Regions from separate parts of the Homo sapiens genome. Here all the other regions are linked to region 1. Evidence: promoter capture Hi-C in 16 types of primary human blood cells and fetal thymus (Javierre and others, 2016). All regions are on one chromosome and are shown on one strand. Each heading gives the region's core, a stretch centred on a gene start or on the middle of the fragment in contact. The rest is flanking DNA. Distances are from core to core; before and after follow the strand shown.

What was found. Contacts are between HindIII fragments. The CHiCAGO score rates a contact against its expected background, and 5 or more counts as called.
Region 2: the fragment with the promoter of KRT25 here is called in contact with the fragment with the promoter of KRT15 in region 1 in 3 of 17 cell types (M1 macrophages, total CD8 T cells and M0 macrophages); the score reaches 9.0 in M1 macrophages.
Region 3: a contact is called between a fragment that was not itself captured here and the fragment with the promoter of KRT15 in region 1, in 5 of 17 cell types (erythroblasts, monocytes, M2 macrophages and 2 more). The highest score is 8.5, in erythroblasts.
Region 4: a contact is called between a fragment that was not itself captured here and the fragment with the promoter of KRT15 in region 1, in 15 of 17 cell types (M1 macrophages, M2 macrophages, naive CD8 T cells and 12 more). The highest score is 14.8, in M1 macrophages.
Region 5: a contact is called between a fragment that was not itself captured here and the fragment with the promoter of KRT15 in region 1, in 9 of 17 cell types (naive CD8 T cells, M2 macrophages, total B cells and 6 more). The highest score is 9.3, in naive CD8 T cells.
Region 6: a fragment that was not itself captured here is called in contact with the fragment with the promoter of KRT15 in region 1 in 9 of 17 cell types (non-activated CD4 T cells, activated CD4 T cells, total CD8 T cells and 6 more); the score reaches 11.3 in non-activated CD4 T cells.
Region 7: a contact is called between a fragment that was not itself captured here and the fragment with the promoter of KRT15 in region 1, in 5 of 17 cell types (naive CD8 T cells, activated CD4 T cells, naive B cells and 2 more). The highest score is 7.2, in naive CD8 T cells.

What each region holds. Positions count from the first base shown.
Region 1 is chr17:41,517,560-41,520,198 of GRCh38, reverse strand. It overlaps KRT15 (keratin 15), which reads left to right and starts at 1,309. Exons shown (of 8, transcript NM_002275.4): 1 at 1,309-1,869. The coding sequence starts at 1,372. RefSeq lists an enhancer at 1-969. The HindIII fragment of the contact is 23,808 bases long and covers 1-2,639 here.
Region 2 is chr17:40,754,037-40,756,675 of GRCh38, reverse strand. It overlaps KRT25 (keratin 25), which reads left to right and starts at 1,345. Exons shown (of 8, transcript NM_181534.4): 1 at 1,345-1,833; 2 at 2,208-2,290. The coding sequence starts at 1,405. The HindIII fragment of the contact is 3,727 bases long and covers 1-2,535 here.
Region 3 is chr17:40,811,966-40,814,604 of GRCh38, reverse strand. It overlaps LOC105371776 (a long non-coding RNA gene), which reads right to left. Exons shown (of 4, transcript XR_934753.2): 4 at 477-657. Among named protein-coding and RNA genes, the nearest start is that of KRT10-AS1, 5.9 kb to the left of the region's middle. The HindIII fragment of the contact is 4,415 bases long and covers 1-2,639 here.
Region 4 is chr17:40,870,648-40,873,286 of GRCh38, reverse strand. The region is part of intron 1 of LOC105371777 (a long non-coding RNA gene); the gene reads right to left. Among named protein-coding and RNA genes, the nearest start is that of KRT12, 4.7 kb to the right of the region's middle. The HindIII fragment of the contact is 527 bases long and covers 1,049-1,575 here.
Region 5 is chr17:40,887,859-40,890,497 of GRCh38, reverse strand. All of the region lies in intron 1 of LOC105371777 (a long non-coding RNA gene), which reads right to left. Among named protein-coding and RNA genes, the nearest start is that of KRT20, 3.9 kb to the right of the region's middle. The HindIII fragment of the contact is 6,046 bases long and covers 1-2,639 here.
Region 6 is chr17:40,925,661-40,928,299 of GRCh38, reverse strand. KRT23 (keratin 23) reads left to right here. Exons shown (of 9, transcript NM_015515.5): 6 at 1-62. Among named protein-coding and RNA genes, the nearest start is that of KRT23, 11 kb to the left of the region's middle. The HindIII fragment of the contact is 4,468 bases long and covers 1-2,639 here.
Region 7 is chr17:40,942,852-40,945,490 of GRCh38, reverse strand. The region is part of intron 1 of LOC107985072 (a long non-coding RNA gene); the gene reads right to left. Among named protein-coding and RNA genes, the nearest start is that of KRT23, 6.5 kb to the right of the region's middle. The HindIII fragment of the contact is 5,430 bases long and covers 1-2,639 here.

The sequences.
Region 1 (2,639 bases), core at 60-2,559:
ATGATAATTGATAAAGCCAGGATTCAAACCCGGGCCTGAGGGACTCCAGAGCCCTGTCCACTTCACCATGCTGCAACCTGGGCTAGGAATCCTCCTCCTGAGTTTCTGTAAGCCCTGGGGCCAGGTCCAGAGGGCTGAGCCACACCTCCAAGTGGCACTGCCCACAGGTATCAGGTGTCCCTGGAAAGGTGTCCCTGAGCTGGTGGCAGAGAAAAGGGCTCTCCTGAGTGTTCAACTCCCCGTCTGTGTGAAGCAATGCCTTGGTCTTCAAGATCTCCGGTGTCTTCCAGCCTGCCTGCCAGTCTCCCTTCTCTTCCCTTCCACAGCATTCAGGCACATAGAGCCTTCTGCAGCGGCCCGTCCCCAGCCAGCACTTGACAGGACAGATGGGGGCTAATCTGGCCCTGCTAAGCAGCGACATGCCTCTCCTGGAGAAGGCAGGGGCTTCCTGGAACTTGCCCCAGCCTTATCAGCGGAGGTTTGCCCCAACACATCCCAGAAACGAGCAAAGGTTCAGCGCCGTGCAGTTGGCAGGTGTCGGGATCATCAGTCATCCCCTTGTCAGTCCCAAGCCTGCTGGGCTTTTGTGAGGGTGCCAGGAACACAGGCTGGAGGATGGCAGGAGGGGAGTAGAGGTGGGAGGAGGGGAGTCCATCTGCAGCACCAGGTAAGGGGATGGATGCTGGCTCCTCTGGTCACCTCAGCTGGAACACTACTCAAGGTCCCTGGCTCCTGTCCTCCACCTGCCCCCAGGGGCCCTGCATTCCCATCCCCAGGGCCTCCACTCTCCCTGAGCCCTGCAGTCTCTCACTCACTCACTCACTCACTCATTCACTCACTCACTCACTCACAGGGTTTTGAGTTGGATAACACAGCATAATGATCGGCCAGTGGACTCCCAAACTAAGAACACGGAGCTGTCCTCTTGGGGAGAGGCTCAGGGCTCGGGGAAGTGAAGTCCAGCTGAGGGCACAGTTGGCCTGAGCTGCTCTCAGTACAGGCAGAGGCCTTGGTAGCTGTGCTGTGATGAGAGTTCGCTCCCTGCTGCTCTCTTCTGGCATGGAGAGATGAACCTGTAATCCAAGTGTTAAAACCGTGCCCTGGGGAAAAACACTATTAATTCTGAATCATCTCTTTTGTTGCATTAAAAAAAAATAGAAGAGAAAAACTTCACATGACCCACTCAAGGTGTGCAGGCAGCTGTGTTTGTCAGGAAGGCAGAAGGAGTTGGCTTTGCTTTAGGGGAGGAGACGAGGTCCCACAACACCCTCTGAAGGGTATATAAGGAGCCCCAGCGTGCAGCCTGGCCTGGTACCTCCTGCCAGCATCTCTTGGGTTTGCTGAGAACTCACGGGCTCCAGCTACCTGGCCATGACCACCACATTTCTGCAAACTTCTTCCTCCACCTTTGGGGGTGGCTCAACCCGAGGGGGTTCCCTCCTGGCTGGGGGAGGTGGCTTTGGTGGGGGGAGTCTCTCTGGGGGAGGTGGAAGCCGAAGTATCTCAGCTTCTTCTGCTAGGTTTGTCTCTTCAGGGTCAGGAGGAGGATATGGGGGTGGCATGAGGGTCTGTGGCTTTGGTGGAGGGGCTGGTAGTGTTTTCGGTGGAGGCTTTGGAGGGGGCGTTGGTGGGGGTTTTGGTGGTGGCTTTGGTGGTGGCGATGGTGGTCTCCTCTCTGGCAATGAGAAAATTACCATGCAGAACCTCAATGACCGCCTGGCCTCCTACCTGGACAAGGTACGTGCCCTGGAGGAGGCCAATGCTGACCTGGAGGTGAAGATCCATGACTGGTACCAGAAGCAGACCCCAACCAGCCCAGAATGCGACTACAGCCAATACTTCAAGACCATTGAAGAGCTCCGGGACAAGGTGAGTCCTCGGATGTCAAAGAGAGGGGAGCAGGTGGCTGGTACCCTGTACACAGCTCTAATGTCAGTGTTACTGCTGACTCAAGGAAATCCTTTCCTGCCCAGGCAATGACTGTCTGGTATGTAATCTCAGCAAATTTGGAATGCACCTGCTGTCCAGGTGCAGAGGCCAGTGCACATCTTCTCAACTTGGTGGTGCTGGGGGAGGGAGAGAGGGGTCTTGGGAATCTGGTTAGGACCAACAGGGGCACAGGTGGGGGCAATTATAAAGAGCCAGAGGCAGTAGCTCACACCTGTAATCCCAGTGCTTTGGGGGGCCAAGGTGATAGGATTGCTCGTGTCCAGGATTTAGAGGCTGCAGTGAGCTATGACTGTGCCACTGCACTCCGGCCTAGGTGACAGAGTGGAACCTGTATCTAATTAAATAAAAATAATTAAAAAAAAAGAGCAACTCGCCCTCCCTACCTCATGCACCCTGCAGGCTTCTGCATAAAGTATTCCTTTACCTCTTTTGCAAGAATGGGATTGGAGTGTGGCCTCATGAGTTCCAGATGCTAGAACCTCTTGTCTTTTCCTATAAAGAGGTCTTTTGTGCCAAAAGTACTGTTGGGTCTTAGGAGACCTGGGAACTCATTACACATTCTGCCACCCACTCACTCACCATTTTACTCCCTAAGACTGGGTTCCTCATTCGTAAAATGCCTTCTTAACTGCCCTCCAGGTTGCTACTGGCTGGAATGTTCTGTAGATCCATGGCTGTGTCCAAGGTGT
Region 2 (2,639 bases), core at 96-2,595, 760 kb after region 1:
ATTTCATTTAGGTGGGAAGAATAAGTTCAGGATAACTATTGTACAATATGGTGACTATAGTTAATAACAATAAGAAAGTAGATTTTAAATGTTCTTACCACAAAATAGGTATGTGAGGTAATAGATATGTTAATTAGCTTGATTTGGTCATTACACAATATATTCATATATCAAAAAATCATGTCGTGCACCATAAATATATACAATTTTTATTTCTCATTTTTTTTTTTTTGAGGCAGAGTCTCATTCTGTCACTCTGGCTGGAGTGCAGTGACACAATCTTAGCTCACTGTAACCTCTGCCTCCCAGGTTCAATTGATTCTCTTGCCTCAGCCTCCCGAGTAGCTGGGATTACAGGCACCTCGCCATGATGCCTGGCTAATTTTTGTATTTTTAGTAGAGATGGGGTTTCACCATGTTGGTGAGGCTGGTCTCAAATGCCTGACCTCAAGTGATCCACCTGCCTCAGCCTCCCAAAGTGCTAGGATTACAGGCGTAAGCCACTGTGCCTGGCCTTATTTGTCAATTTTTTATATTTCCATAATAGGTAGAGTTTTCAGTAAATATATGTGAATTCCCACCGACTAAATACCTTACTGATGACTTTCATCTGAGCTAAACCACAATAAATTAAGACAGAAAAAATAGTTCCTACCAGGTTTGCTTCAGATTTTGCAGGGTCAGGAAATAAGTTAATGTCTTTCCAAACTCCCACAAAACATAACACCAATTAGGGGTGTGCTCCTAATTACCAAAATGGATAAGGTAAGACAACTCTCCTCAGTCATAAGTGTCAACAGAATATGATGCTCATGTCAGCCAGAATGGAAGTTAACTTCCCATGGGAAAGAGTGGCAAGAGGAATTTAAAAATAAAAACAAAAACCTATTGGTTGAAGAACCAGGTTGGGGAAATGATTACAGTTCTATTCTCTACTTATGTGGAAAAACTTGTGAAAATAAAAGCAGAAAAAGCCTCAGAAACATCACAATCTGCCTTGGCATAATAGCCCAAAACCATGATGCTAAATTTCTATCCTGTAATGAGCTGATGAGGTTTACTTCCAAGGATGGAAGTGAAGAATGACTCACTCAGCATTTAAAAACGTAATAATGAACCTGACATTGCTCCACCCAGACCCATTTCTCAGATAACCACCAACCTGAGGGCAACTGCCCTCCTACAGGAATGAGCCCAGCAAAGTGAGTTACTAATTAGAAAAAATCACCCAATTATGCCAACTTGCTGAGACTGGCAAGCCATGTTTTACTCTGTGTAGGCAGAATTTCATTCAGAACACACTTGGGACTTGCCTATAAAAAGGCAAACCAAACCTTTTAGACAAGAAGGCACTCCATTCTGGCTTTCACAAATACAGCTCTGCAACGCGTTTGCCCTGATACCATGTCTCTTCGACTTTCCAGTGCATCCAGGAGGTCCTGTCCTCGTCCCACCACTGGATCACTCAGACTCTATGGTGGGGGAACCAGCTTTGGTACTGGAAATTCTTGTGGCATTTCAGGGATTGGAAGTGGCTTCTCTAGTGCCTTCGGAGGCAGCTCATCGGGAGGAAACACAGGGGGAGGTAATCCCTGTGCTGGCTTCACTGTGAATGAGCGGGGGCTCCTTTCTGGCAATGAGAAGGTGACCATGCAGAACCTCAATGACCGCCTGGCATCCTACCTGGACAGTGTGCATGCTCTGGAGGAGGCCAACGCTGACCTGGAGCAGAAGATCAAGGGCTGGTATGAGAAATTTGGGCCTGGCTCTTGCCGTGGTCTTGATCATGACTATAGCAGATATTTCCCAATAATTGATGACCTTAAAAATCAGGTAAGAAATCATACTGCACAATCATTTTCATGTACCTTTATTTCTAAATTTTGTTTTCCTTTCTTTATTAAATTCTAAAAACATTTATCATTCCTACTTGTGATTTTTTTTTTTTTTTTTTTTTGAGAAGGAGTTTTGCTCTTGTTGCCCAGGCTGGAGTGCAACCGTGGGATCTTGGCTCACTGCAACCTCCACCTCCTGGGTTCAAGAGATTCTCCTGCCTCAGCCTCCCAAGTAGCTGGGATTACAGGTGCCTGCCACCATGCCCTCCTACTTGTGATTTCTTAAAGAGAATTCCAATTTAGCATTAGAAATAAGCATTAAGTAGATTCAGTTGGTTTACTTCATGATAAAAGTCAAATTCCCATTTCTAGATCATCGCATCCACCACCAGCAATGCTAATGCTGTTCTGCAGATCGATAATGCCAGGCTTACAGCTGATGATTTCAGACTCAAGTAAGTAGACTGCCAGAGTGAAATGAATTCATGGCAATTCATGCAACGCATTACATCAAATTTAGCAACTCTTATTCCAAAATTATAAAACACTTGAATTTCACATAAACAGGATGTTATTACTTTTTTATGCTTTGACTATTAAATACAAAGCATGAACTGCTATTAAAACTAGCGCCCAATACCCTAGTTCTTTTTCTGTCAAATACTGCAAAGTAGAAACAATAATTATTATACAACAAGCTTTGAAAATGCCTCTTGTGGCCAAATCTTCAAAATTCCAGAATGCTAGCATTTGTCATTGATCAGTGACTAGTGACTATGTCTCCAACCATGTGACAAATTAGGA
Region 3 (2,639 bases), core at 86-2,585, 710 kb after region 1:
GAACTAATTTACACTCCCACCAACAGTGTAAAAGCGTTCCTATTTCTCCACATCCTCTCCAGCATTTGTTGTTTCCTGACTTTTTAATGACCGCCATTCTAACTGGTGTGAGATGGTATCTCATTGTGGTTTTGATTTGCATTTCTCTGATGACCAGTGATGTTGAGCATTTTTTCATATGTCTGTTGGCTGCATAAACGTCTTCTTTTGAGAAGTCTGTTCATTTCCTTTGTCCACTTTTTGATGGGGTTGTTTTTTTCTTGTAAATTTGTTTAAGTTCTTTGTAGATTCTGGATATTAGCCCTTTGTCAGATGGGTAGATTGCAAAAATTTTCTCCCTTTCTGTAGGTTGCCTGTTCACCATGATGATAGTTTCTTTTGCTGTGCAGAAGCTCTTTAGTTTAATTAGATCCCATTTGTCAATTTTGGCTTTTGTTGCCATTGCTTTTGGTTTTTCAGTCATGAAGTCTTTGCCCATGCCTGTGTCCTGAATGGTATTGCCTAGGTTTTCCACTTTTTCTTTTTTTCACAGCACTGTTTCCAACTTACTATACAATGTATTCATTATTAGTCATCCTTTTCCCCTGCTAGACGGTACACTCCAGAAAGACAACGCTTGATCTTCGTCTACTTTATCCATTCATGTATCCTGAGGCACTAGAACAGTGACTAACACAGGTTAGGTACCAAAAATATCGTTTTTGAAGGAATGAACTCTATGACATATATACTATTATTATCTCCATTTTACAGATGAAGAAACTGAAGCACAATTTAATTCATCACTGGAACTAAGAGTGTAGGAAATGATTATATATAAATGGACATTAGTGTATGATAAAGGAAGAATCTAAACCCTAAGAAAGTAAGGTTTATTCAGTAAATGATAAACTATTAAACCCATAACAAACATACTAGAAATAATCCAAATGAGTGTCTTAAACATCCATATAAGTAGTAAAAAAAAAGCAGAAAAAAATGTGTAATCACATTTTTTAAATTTTGAAATAATTATAGACTCGTTGGAAATTGCAAAAATAGTAGAGTCCAGTGTACTCCTGACTCACCTTCCCCAAATAGAGACATCTTCTATAGGCTAGGGTATAATATCTAAAATTTAAAAATTGGCATTGGTACATCACTGTTTAACTACAGAGCTTACTCAGTTTTTGTTTTTCCTAACCTGCATGTGTATTCACAAAATACAAATCTTATAAAGGACTGGCATATAGAATATAAATATAAAAAACTATAACTCAATAACAAGAAAAAACCACAAACCAAAAAAAAATTGTGTGTCTGTGCAATTGTACCCCATGTATAGGTACAATTTTTGTACCACCACCCAAATCAAGATACAGAACCATTTCATAACCACAAAAGAACTCCTTCATGCTACCTTTTTGTATTCACATGTGTACCTCAACACTCCCTTCCCAGTTCCTGGCCCCTGGCAACTACTAATCTCCATCTCTATAGTTTTACCATTTAGAGAATGCTATATAAGTGTAATCACACAGTATGTAACCTTTTGAGACTGAACATTTGTGTACACGTTTTGGTGTGAACATACATTTTCATTTCTCTGGGTTATATGTCCAAGCATATAATTGCTAGGTCATATGGTAGGTGCATGTTCAGTTTTGTAAGAAACCGCCAAACTGTTGTCCAGAGAAGCTGTACCATTTTATATTGCCACCAGCAATAAATGGGAGAGCAAATTTTTCTGCATCCTCATCAGTATTTGGCATTATCAGTATTTTTCTAATAGGTATGTACTTATAGCTCACTGAAGTTTAATTTGCATTTCCCTAATGGAAAATATGCTGAATAGCTTTTCTTTTTATTTTCTTTTTTTTCTCTCTCTTTTTTCTTGTTTTGAGACAGAGACTTTCTCTGGCGCCCAGGCTGGAGTGCAGTGGAGCAATCTCAGCTCACCGCAACCTCTGCCTCCCAAGTTCAAGTGATTTTCCTACCTCAGCCTCCTGAGTAGCTGGGATTACAGGCATGCGCCACCATGCCCAGCTAATTTTTGTATTTTTAGTAGAGATGAGGTCTCACCATGTCAGCCAGGCTGGTCTCAAACTCCTGACCTCAGGTGATCCACCCACTTCAGCCTCCCAAAGTGTTGGGATTACAGGCGTGAGCCACTGTGTCTGGCCTGAACAGCTTTTCATGTGGCTATTTGCCATCCGTATCTCCTCTTTGGTGAAACATCTGCTCATGTATTTTGATCATTATATAGCCCATTTGTATTTCATTGTGTTCTTTTCACTTAGGATTACTTTGGCTATTCATGATCTTCATCGGTCCCATATGAATGTTAGAATAGTTTCTTCTAGTTCTGTGAAAAATTACATTGGTGATTTGATAGGAATAGCATTGAACCTGTAGTTCGTTTTGGGCAGTATGGTCATTTTAACAATATTGACCCAATATCATTATTCACCCAATCCATGAGCATATGATGTTTTTCCATTTGTTTGTGTCATCTATTGAAAGTCACCGTCAAAATAATTTTAAAAAGCCAAAGACTGGGAGAAAATAGTCACAAAAATACAAATCTTATAAAGGACTGGCATATAGAATATAAATATAAAAAACTACAACTCAATAACAAGAAAAAAACCACAAACCAA
Region 4 (2,639 bases), core at 63-2,562, 650 kb after region 1:
CCTGATTAGACCCCCAAGTAACAATTCCAACTTAAAGCATTAGTAGTGATTTTTATTTTTGAATTCTCTTTCAAACATCTCTGTTTTCTCTCCCCTAGGCTCATTTCCAAGATTCCTCTCATCAGGGTATTATTTTATCATCTTCCTGTCTCCTACCACTTTCAAAATTCTCCCCTGCTTTCAAGAACCATTGATCTCTGGAGCCCAGAAGTCAATCTCACTCATACCCCTTAGGGTCCTTGTTTAACCCTCATCTCAAAAGCACAATACATAAAATGTAGGCAACCCAAAATTCTCTCAGTCACTCACAGGATTTTATAATGTTATCCAAAGTGAAAGATGTTACAGATCAAGGGATCAGCGAGTTGCAGAAAATGACAGGTCTGTCTTACGGGAAAAAACTCAGGTAGAAAACCCTGCAAAGACCAGGACAGAAACCAACCTGACATGAAAAGATGAGGGTATGATTTACTCAATAAAAATCTAAAGACTTGTAAAAACCACATAACTAATTTTCTCTATTTTGAACATTTCCTAAACTCTACAAAAATGGAAGATATAATTCTTTTGAACAGTTTGCCCTGGCTATAATCATTTTCCTCTCTGCCTCAACTTATGCAATCACTCTGCCAACAAGCCCAAGATTGTTTATTGTTTTTTACATCACCACTGCCTTATACATTAATGTGGCTGTCAAAGAAAATTATTTTCACTTCTAAAACCTCTAAAGCAGAGTCTTGATTATTTAACTTAGCCTCCCACTTAAAAAAAAAAAAGCCACTGAAGAAGAAATATTTCCCTTTTCAACTTCTGAAGTTGCTCCCCATTCATAACTGAATTCAGAATAAATATTGGTCAAAGCATACCAGTAAATTAGGGCACAGTCATTTTCAAATGAAATGAATTTCAAATGACACATTCAAACACATTAAGACTTAACTTCTTTCAAATGAAATCATTCAAGGAGTGCAGTGATAAAGTTCAGCGAAACACTAGGCTAGGACTCAGGATAAAAAATAAATTAGATGTAGTACCTACCTAACAAGCTTAGTCTAGGATAATATGTTATATGTATAGAAACATAAACAAATAATATATAAACATAATTTTTAGAGATTGAGCAATATTATTTAAATTTTACCATAGGCATTAGAGTTGGAAAGTGTACCTTTCAGCACAAAATCAATTCCAAGTTCAAAAATTCAACTTAATCATATTCCCGTATTATGTGATCAAATCACTGAGGTACAATTTTGAACTTGGCACATTTCTTTTGACATTTTATTTGCTTCTGTTTTCATTTCTATGGCAGTAAAATGGAATCTCTCTGTCTTGGGGGACACTTGGGAGTGAATAATAGTTAACAACCATAACATCAAGTTCTTGTGTGGGGAGTGCAAGTTTAACTTGTGCTTTATAAGATCTCTGGAGATGTAGTTACAGGTCAAAGCTAAAATGAAAACCGCATTTGCCTGTGTGTTTACAGAATTTCATGTGTCATGTTGTTGCTTATAAGCCATGAAAAGTCATTCTCTAGGTCTCAGCCCATACACTGAGAAATTCAAGGAGAAAGCTTAAAAGAAAAGAAAAAAAAAAGAGCACCTCCTGTTAGATGTGCAGGGCAGAAGCCTAGTGTCAGGTGTCATAGCTAGGGGATGTCAGAGTATCCTCTGCCCTTTTTATTGTCACCGCCAGCAGCAAGGTTGTGGTATCTATAGAAGGCACTGCAGGCCCGAATCCTATCTCTGCCTCCTCCCAGCTGCATGGGCGTAAATAAATCACTTAACATCTGGACTCTCAGATTGCTCATCTGTAAAATAGGATAAAAGTACCACCTGAAGCTGGGCGCCTTGAGGTGGCTCATGCCCGTAATCCCAGTGCTTTGGGAGGCCAAGGCAGAAGGATCACTTGAGGCCTAAAGTTCAAGACCAGCTTACGCGATATAACAAGACTCCATCTCTACAAAAAAATTAAAAAAAAAAAAATAGCCAGTGTTGTGGTGCCCACCTGTAGTCCTAGCTACTTGGGAGGCTGAGGCAGGAGGATTGCTTAAGCTCAGGAGTTCAAGGTTTCAGAGAGCTATGATCACACCACTGCACTCCAGCCGGAGTGAGGGCAACCAAGCAAGACCTTGTTTCAAACAAACAAACAAATAAAACCAGTACCACTTTAAGAGCTTGCCGTGAAGGTTAAAAAATAATGTCTGTAATTCAGCTGGCCCAGTGTCCAAAAAGTAGTAAGTACATAATAACTGATAATTCAAACAAGACCAGCTCAGTCAAAATGCTTATAATATAGATTTAAGGAATCCTTGGTAAAAACCTCCATATGGGGCTAAAATCACTGGCATTTCCACTGACCAGATTTTCATTCTCTCAAGAAATTAAACAAATGGATCATGGCTTCTCTCAAGCTGAGACTGCCTTAGGTTGCTACATTCTTTCCACATCTATAGCAAATGTGTGATTTCTGCAAATCTCTTGCTTAAACCCCCTTTATTTAGAAATCCCACTTGCTTGCTCTTTGTGACGAGTTTAGGTTGGGGAGAAATATGTCCCTTCACATTTGTCCCTTATGTAATAATATAAAAGGAAGTTGTAATTGGATTTCACCACGGGTTCATCATTTGTGTCCCTGGG
Region 5 (2,639 bases), core at 85-2,584, 630 kb after region 1:
TGTCTTGTTTAAAAATACTCCTTTACTCTAATTCCTAGAGATATTATTCTGTGTTTTCTTCTAAATGTTGTATAGTTTTTAACTTTTCACATTTTTATCTTTAATGAATCTGGAATTCATTTTCTTATATTTTAGGTAAATTTTGCCTTAGACAGAAATACAACTGCCATTTGTTAAATATGGGATACTCCATTTCTTTCCTCATTGATTTGAAATGCCCAAGCCGTACAAAATTAGTTTCTATAGGCAACAGATCTGTTTCTGAGCTCTTTGTGCTAATTCACTGGCTTATTTCCAGATCATTGTAAGAGCCATCATGTGAAAGGCAAAACCATAAAATTAGAAAACATAATATGCATTCTTTTTTTTCTTCAACTTTTATTTTAAGTTCAGGGGTAAATGTGCAGGATGTGCAGTTTTGTTACATAGGTAAACATGTGCCACGGTGGTTTACTGCACAGATCATCCCAACACCCAGGTATTAAGCCTAGCGTCCATTAGCTATTCTTCCTGATGCTTTCCCCCCAACCACAGGTGCCAGTGTGTGTTGTTCTCCGCCATGTGTCCCTGTGTGGAAAATATAATATGCATTCTTAACCTGTCAATATCTAAAGTTAATCTGTATGTTTGCTGTTTTCCTAAACAGTCCCGCAATTTAGAACAATTTAACTCCATTCATCCCCTTCCAGCCCTCATCTACTTTAATTCCATATTGTTTTTTCTTCTCAATAGATATATTATTTTATAGCCAATACTTGTCTTTACATTTACATTTGGTCGCATGCTTAGCACTCTATTTGTTCATTATTTTAATTCTTTTATGCATCTCAGAACTTTCATCTGGAATCATCTTCCTTCTGCTTAAAACACATTCTTTCAGATTGCTCTTAGTGAAAACTTAGAAGTTGATGGCAAATTCAGTTTTTTAAATGTTGAAAATGGCTTTATTTTACCCTTCTTCAAATATAATGTTACCGAGTCAGAAAATTCCGGAATGGCAGTTATTTCCTCCCAGCACATTGAAGATTCTATTCCATTTCCAGTGTCCATTGTTGCTTTTGAGGAGTCAGTCATCAGTCTAACCACCATTCCTTTGTTGGTGATTTATTCTCTATCTGCTTGTAATTATCTGGTTTTCTGCCTCAATGTGTGTAGTGATTTATTTTTATTCCTTTTGCCTGGAATTCATTAGGTCTCCTTAATCTGAGAACTTGGGTTTTTTTTAAAGAATTCTATAAAATTCTCACTTTTTATTTTGTTGAATGTTTTCTTATTCTCTTGTGTCTTCTTCTGGAACTCTGATTAGACATATTTAGACCTTCTAATTATAGCCTTCATGCCTTCTTGACTTCCTCCTTCGTCACTTAGCTGCATTCTGGAAATTTTCCTCAGAGCTACATTTTGTTCAATAATCCTGGCTTAATCTGTTCCTGGATCCATCCACTGAACTTGTAATTTTAACGGCATTATTTATTTCCTCTGGTTTGTATTTCAGATCTGCTTGGTACTTGCTCCAATTTTAAGTTTGTTTTATTTTCTAAAACAATTTATATTTATATTCTTCATCCAATCATTCTATAGCCACTATGAGACAATAAATAAATCCATCCAACTCATCAAAACACAGCTGAGAATTACCAAATAAGTACAAACAAAAACCTAAATATGACTGATTAACTGTGCAGAATACAATGATGTAAGTTTACTATACATCAACCTCCTTGTACCCATCTCCTCGCTTCAACAAATAACTCAGGGCAAAACTTCCTTCATCCATACTTCCACCCTCCTTCTCCCTGTCTGAACAAGATGCCACTCCAGAGACTGCAGGTTCTATGTCTATCATATGTGATTGCAATAGCTTGGTCATGGTAGAATACAAAAAAAAAGAAAAAAGTTGAAAGCCCTCTGAAAACTGTAGTGCTTATAATAGCCTTCCCAACTACTGGCCATACTTAATATTAATCATTAACACTCTCAGTAGAGTGTCTCAGAAGTCAAAATGTATCTCCTACTAGCTACAAGGAAGTTGGGATCTAATAAGTATTTATTTACAGCTGCAGTCACCCAACAGCCTGAAATACCAGGGTCTCTAAATTCATGACTTTGTGTATGAACAAGGGTCAATAGGATCTTTACTCAGTCCTCGAGATATAACTCAGAAAAATGAATTGCTGTGAAAAACTCACTTGATTTCCTGTGGTCACATTATAAGATCGAATAATCTACAAAAGTACAAAACTCAGTGATATAGAGAAGCCAGCAAATTCTCCTGCCCTTATATAAACAGGTGGGAGGCTTTCCAGTAGAATTTTTTCTACTCCAACAAATTGGTAGATTGAATGACTATACCTCATAATGATGACACTATTGTATCATATTTTAGTTTAAATTTAAAACCTCAAAAACTTACCAAAACTAGCCAAAGATTTCTGGAATAAGATATAGACAAAGTTATTTCTCAAAAAAAAGAAAAAAATTGGCTGGGCCGGGTGCAGTGGCTCACGCCTGTAATGCCAGCACTTTGGGAGGCTGAGGCAGGCAGATCACAAGGTCAAGGGATCAAGATCAGGCTGGCCAACGTGGTGAAACCCCATCTCTACTAAAAATACAAAAATCAGCTCGGCGTGGTGGTGCCC
Region 6 (2,639 bases), core at 61-2,560, 590 kb after region 1:
TCCACGAACTGAAGCGCACATTCCAGGCCCTGGAGATTGACCTGCAGACACAGTACAGCACGGTGAGTCAAGGCTAGGAAAACCGTGAATCCCACACCACCTCCTTCACGAAGCCTTCTGAGACCTCTCTCCCAGGCCCTGACCCTCAACTCCCTTGGGACAACTCTCACTTTCCACTTTCCATCCAAATTGTTTATGATGAGAACCATAATAAAGGGCTACCATGTATTGAGTGTCCCGATGGTGCCAGGCATTGTGCTAAGTAGTTCATGATATTAAATGTCATTAATCCTTACAGTAACCTTCCCAGATAGGTCTTAGTGTCCCCATTTTAGAGATGAGGAAACCAAAACTCCAACAGTAAAATAAATTGGCCAAGGTCACACAGCTAGTAAGTAACTGGTGATGAAACCATATGATTTATTTGGAGGAAGGGGGATTCTAGACCCCCATAATTTCTATCAGTGCCCTCTCCACTTACAACCAGGCTACCCCCCTCAAACCCCAATGTAGAGAAATTCCAGTGCCAACATGGTAGGTGGCAGATCCAGGCCTGGCTAACTCCAAAGCACTGCCCTATTCATTTATGTATATGTCTTATCACCCAGAAAACTCTAAGTTCTTGTGTCCAAGTCATTTCTATCATCTTCACAGTTTAGAAAAATGCTTAGCATGGTCATAAGCATTCAAAATTTATGAAGGTCTATCATTTGATTCCCAGTATACCCTATTGAGTCTTCTAATCATTCATCCATATAATTGCCAAGTGCGATTCTACCCTCAGTCTTGAGAGGCAATGATTTGTTCATTTATGTTGCAGGTGCACTTGGGTAAATGACTGCTGTGTTTTATGCATCCGTGATGGTGAACAGACACTGCAAATGTGCACGTAGAGATCATGAGTACAAAAATAATTATAGTGCAACTTTCAAAACGTTTTAACATACAGTATTTCACAATGGCCCTGTGAAACAGGCGAGGCATGTATACCCATTTTCATGCATTCTACTATCTGACACCAATCCTTAGCACTGAGGATTTTTTAATGAAGGAGTTTATATTCTAGTAGGAGTGACAGATAATAAATGTGCAAATCATCAAAATATATGTTAGATGGAGAAAATTGCTACAGAGATGAAGCAGAGGAGGAGGGCAGATGCACCAGGGTGAAGAGCTGCTATCTTAAACAAGGTGGTCAGGAAAGGTTTTCCTGTTAGAGTGGCAGTGAGCAAAGAGGTAAGGAGGTGCTTGATGTGGTGATGGGATGTGTTCCAAGAGGAGGGAACAGCAAGTGCAAAAGCGACAAGGCACAAGTGTGTCTGATGAGTTGGAGGAGCAGCAGGGAAGTCCATGTGGCTACAGTGAGTGAATGAAGGGAAGAAGAAAGGAGAGAAGAGGAGGGGAAGGGAGGGGAAGAGGGAGGAAGACAGGGTGAGGCCGCGGAGTCCCAACAGAACCAGACAGTGTAGGGCTTTGTAGGCTACCTTGGAGGGGTCTCAAGAGGAACAGCAGGCATAGACAACTCTTTGAGGAGCTTTGCTGTAGCTGAAGGAGAGCAGAGAAATTGGATGATAGCTGAAGGTAGATATGGGTTTAAGAAAGATATATTTTAAGGTAGGAAAAATTATTCTATTTGAAAGCTGGTGGGAATAATCCAGAGAGAATATTGATAACGCAAGAAGGCGGGCAACTGCCGAGATGACTGGAGCACAGACAGCTCACACAAAAGAACAGAGGGAAGCCAGCACCCAGATGCAGATTCAAGTATGTGCCTGGGAGCAATGTAGGGAGCAGTGGGCGGTCTCTCCCGATTGCTTTCATTTCATCAACAAAATTAGGAAGCGAGGCCATGGACTCCGAGGAAGGATGGCAAGGACAGAGGAGAGGGAACAAAATAACCTCCTGGGAGAGTAGGAGACTGGCTGACCAGGGAAATGTGCTTTAACCGCCAGGCAGCATGAACGGCCCCCTGAAAATTAGCAGCCACGATAAAGGGAGAGTATCCAGCACAGTTAGGAGATTCTCTTTAAGGTTAAAATTATGCGCTTCAGAAAAGCAGGTGTTACATGCAAACAGAACTGGGACTTGAACTCAATCCTCCATATTCTAGCCCAGAAACTTCATTTGGCAGCTGTTAGAATTTCCTCAAAAAATGACATTTTTTTTTTTTACCATCGTCATAATCAAAAAGCATTGCTTGAGACTAGGGTTGCCAGATTTACCAAATTAAAATATAGAATACTCAGTTTAGTTGGAATTTCAAATAAAAAGCAATTTTTTTTGCATGTCCCATGCAATACTGGAGCAATATTTTGGACATAGTTACACTAAAAAATTACTCATTACTCATCTGAAATTCAAATTTAACTAGATGTTCTCTATTTTATCTGGCATCCCTAATTGAGACCCTTCTCCGAAGATACAAAGAGATAGCAGTCCCAGTTGCTGTCGCTCTTTGGGAGTTTTCAATCAGGTCAAAGATAAAATGAAAGGAGTTAAACAACAGTTCAGAGCAAGGCAATGGACTTCAAAAGTCCTAACACTGCTCAACTCCTGACTGCCCAAGTCCCAAACCTGTAAGTCAGCCTACTTCTCATCTTGGTGTCCTCAGCAGCTACCAAGACACCTAGCCAACTGGT
Region 7 (2,639 bases), core at 80-2,579, 570 kb after region 1:
GATCTTTCAAGGTCAGGAGTTTGAGACCAGCCTGGCCAACATGGTGAAACCCCATCTCTACAAAAAATACAAAAAATAGCAGGGCATGGTGGTGGGCGCCTGTAATCCCAGCTGCTCGGGAGGCTTGAACCTGGGGGGTGGAGACTGCAGTGAGCTGAGATGGCGCCAGTGCACTCCAGCCTGGGCAACAGATCAAGACTCTGTCTCAAGAAAAAGAAAAAAAAGAAAGAAAGAAAAACGAAGAAGAAGCAGCAATATTTGAGTGAACCAAACAAATACATGATTGAGTTTCAGGCAGCAACAACTATCAAGTGGGGAAGAATGCTGGGAGCAAGGACCTTCCAACAGCCTTGCATACCCTTGCCCTGCCGCAACATGAACCACACTGAGCTAAAGGTAAAACCTATAAGGACAAGACTTCAGCAAATTGCATGAGATGATGTTTCAGCTACCAACACCACAGCTAACTCAAAACATCTCCTCCTAAGGCAAAAGAAAGTAACGCCCAGCGAGGACTAAAGCTAACACGCAGGTTAATTCCAGGATCACTAACAACAACGGTCTTTGTGTAAAGGATTTATTTGATTACCTATCATGTCCATCAGATTAAGATAATCATAAGGAGAAAAAGAAGAGTGAAGTCGTTTCAGCTTTGCAACAGCACTTCCCACCCATTTGCAGGGATCTGTTTTTCCTGCTGTTGTGTTAAGGGAATGAAATCACTGCACAGGCCTTTTGCACAGAGGCAGTGCAAAAGGATTTAAGGATCTTTCTAAAACCAGGCTTAAGTCAGAGTGTTCTGGCAGTCCTTTGAAAGAAGTTATCTAGCTGAAACATCACTTGCCTCCTCAGAAAGGTTTGGTGTCAGCTGGAAAAGGAAGGAAGCTGGAAGGAGGGAGGAGGTGCCCTCCTTCTCTGAAGGTGATAATGATAAATGAGGATCAACTACCAGTATGATGGGCTAGGCCAACCCATTCTTCTCAGGCTTATACCAAGGTACTGAATGATAAGTATGTCACTCAGATGATGATGACTTCATCGCAGCTATGTGAAAAGATCTTGACAACCAGGTTTTCTCTACTGGTGATGGTGCTAAATTGCTTTGTCTCCTGAGCACTGGCAACTCTGAATTCTAGGTATAAATGGGTAAAGATCAGTAACTGCTCCTAAGCACCCCAGAGCAGACCCTCACATAATAGGTTGTGTCATTTGACAGAATACTGAAAGGCCAAACAAAATAAAACTAAACTGTTGGATCTAGAGGCTGAAGGATCTTTAAAGGTAGGAGTGGGAGGGAGTGAGGGATAAAAGACTGCACATTGAGTACAGTGTACACTGCTCTGGTGATGGGTGCACCAAAATCTCAGAAATCACCACTAAAGAACCTATCATATGAAAAAAGGCTCAACATCACTGATAATTAGGTAAATGCAAATCAAAACCACAAGATACCAACTCACACCAGTCAGAATGGTGATTATTAAAAAGTCAAGAAACAACAGATACTGGTGAGGTTGTGGAGAAATGGGAATGCTTTTACATTGTTGGTGGGAATGTAAATTAGTTCAACCATTGTGGTAGACAGTGTGGCAATTCCTCAAAGATTTAGAACTGGAAAGACCATCTGACCCAGCAATCCTGCTACTGGATATCACCCCAACAGACCTGGTGGCCTGCCAAAAAAATATTAAATCATTCTATTATAAAGATATATGCACATGTATGTTCATTGCAGCTACTACTCACAATAGCAGAGACATGGAATCAACCCAAATGCCCATCAATAATACACTGGATAAAGAAAATGTGGTACATACACATCATGGAATACCATACAGCCATAAAAAGGAACAACATCATGTCCTTTGCAGGGACATGGATGAAGCTGGAAGCCATTATCTTCAGCAAACTAACACAGGAACAGAAAATCAAACACCACATGTTATCACTTATAAGTGGGAGCAGAACCATGAGAACATCTGGACACAGAGAGGGGAACAACACACACAGAGGCCTTTCAGGGGAGGGCGGGTGGGGAGAGCAGTAGGGAAAAGACCTATTGCATGCTGGGCTTAATACCTAAGTGATGGGTTGATAGGTGCAGCAAACCACCTGGCACATGTTTACCTATGTAACAAACCTGCATATGTAACCCAGAACTTAAAATATAATAATTTAAAAAAATAGATTGCATCATCTGCAAACAAAAAAATTCATTAATGTAATTGAAAACCACCTGTTTCCCAAAAACTATTAAAATAAAAATTTAAAATAGTTTTTAAGTAGGAATTGTGTCATATTAGTCTATTTATAAAACCAGAGTACCCCTAAAGGAAATCTTCAATAAAATTAATAACTAAGTTAGAAGATTTTAAGTCATATGATTTGTGGCTGTGGAATTCAACCAATAATGAAATTGGAGATGAAATGCACAGTTTGGGGGTATGAGATAAAAAGCAATAAAAACATTTTAAATATAGCCAACCACTTTAAATGAGCAGGTGCTTGAATCAATATCCCACAACTGCAAAAATTTTAGTGAACCTAAAGTATTGTCTCTATGGCAAAGTAAAAAAGGAAGAAAGAAGAAGAGGAAGAGGAAGAGGAGGAGGAAGAGGAGGAAGGAGAAGGAGGAGAAG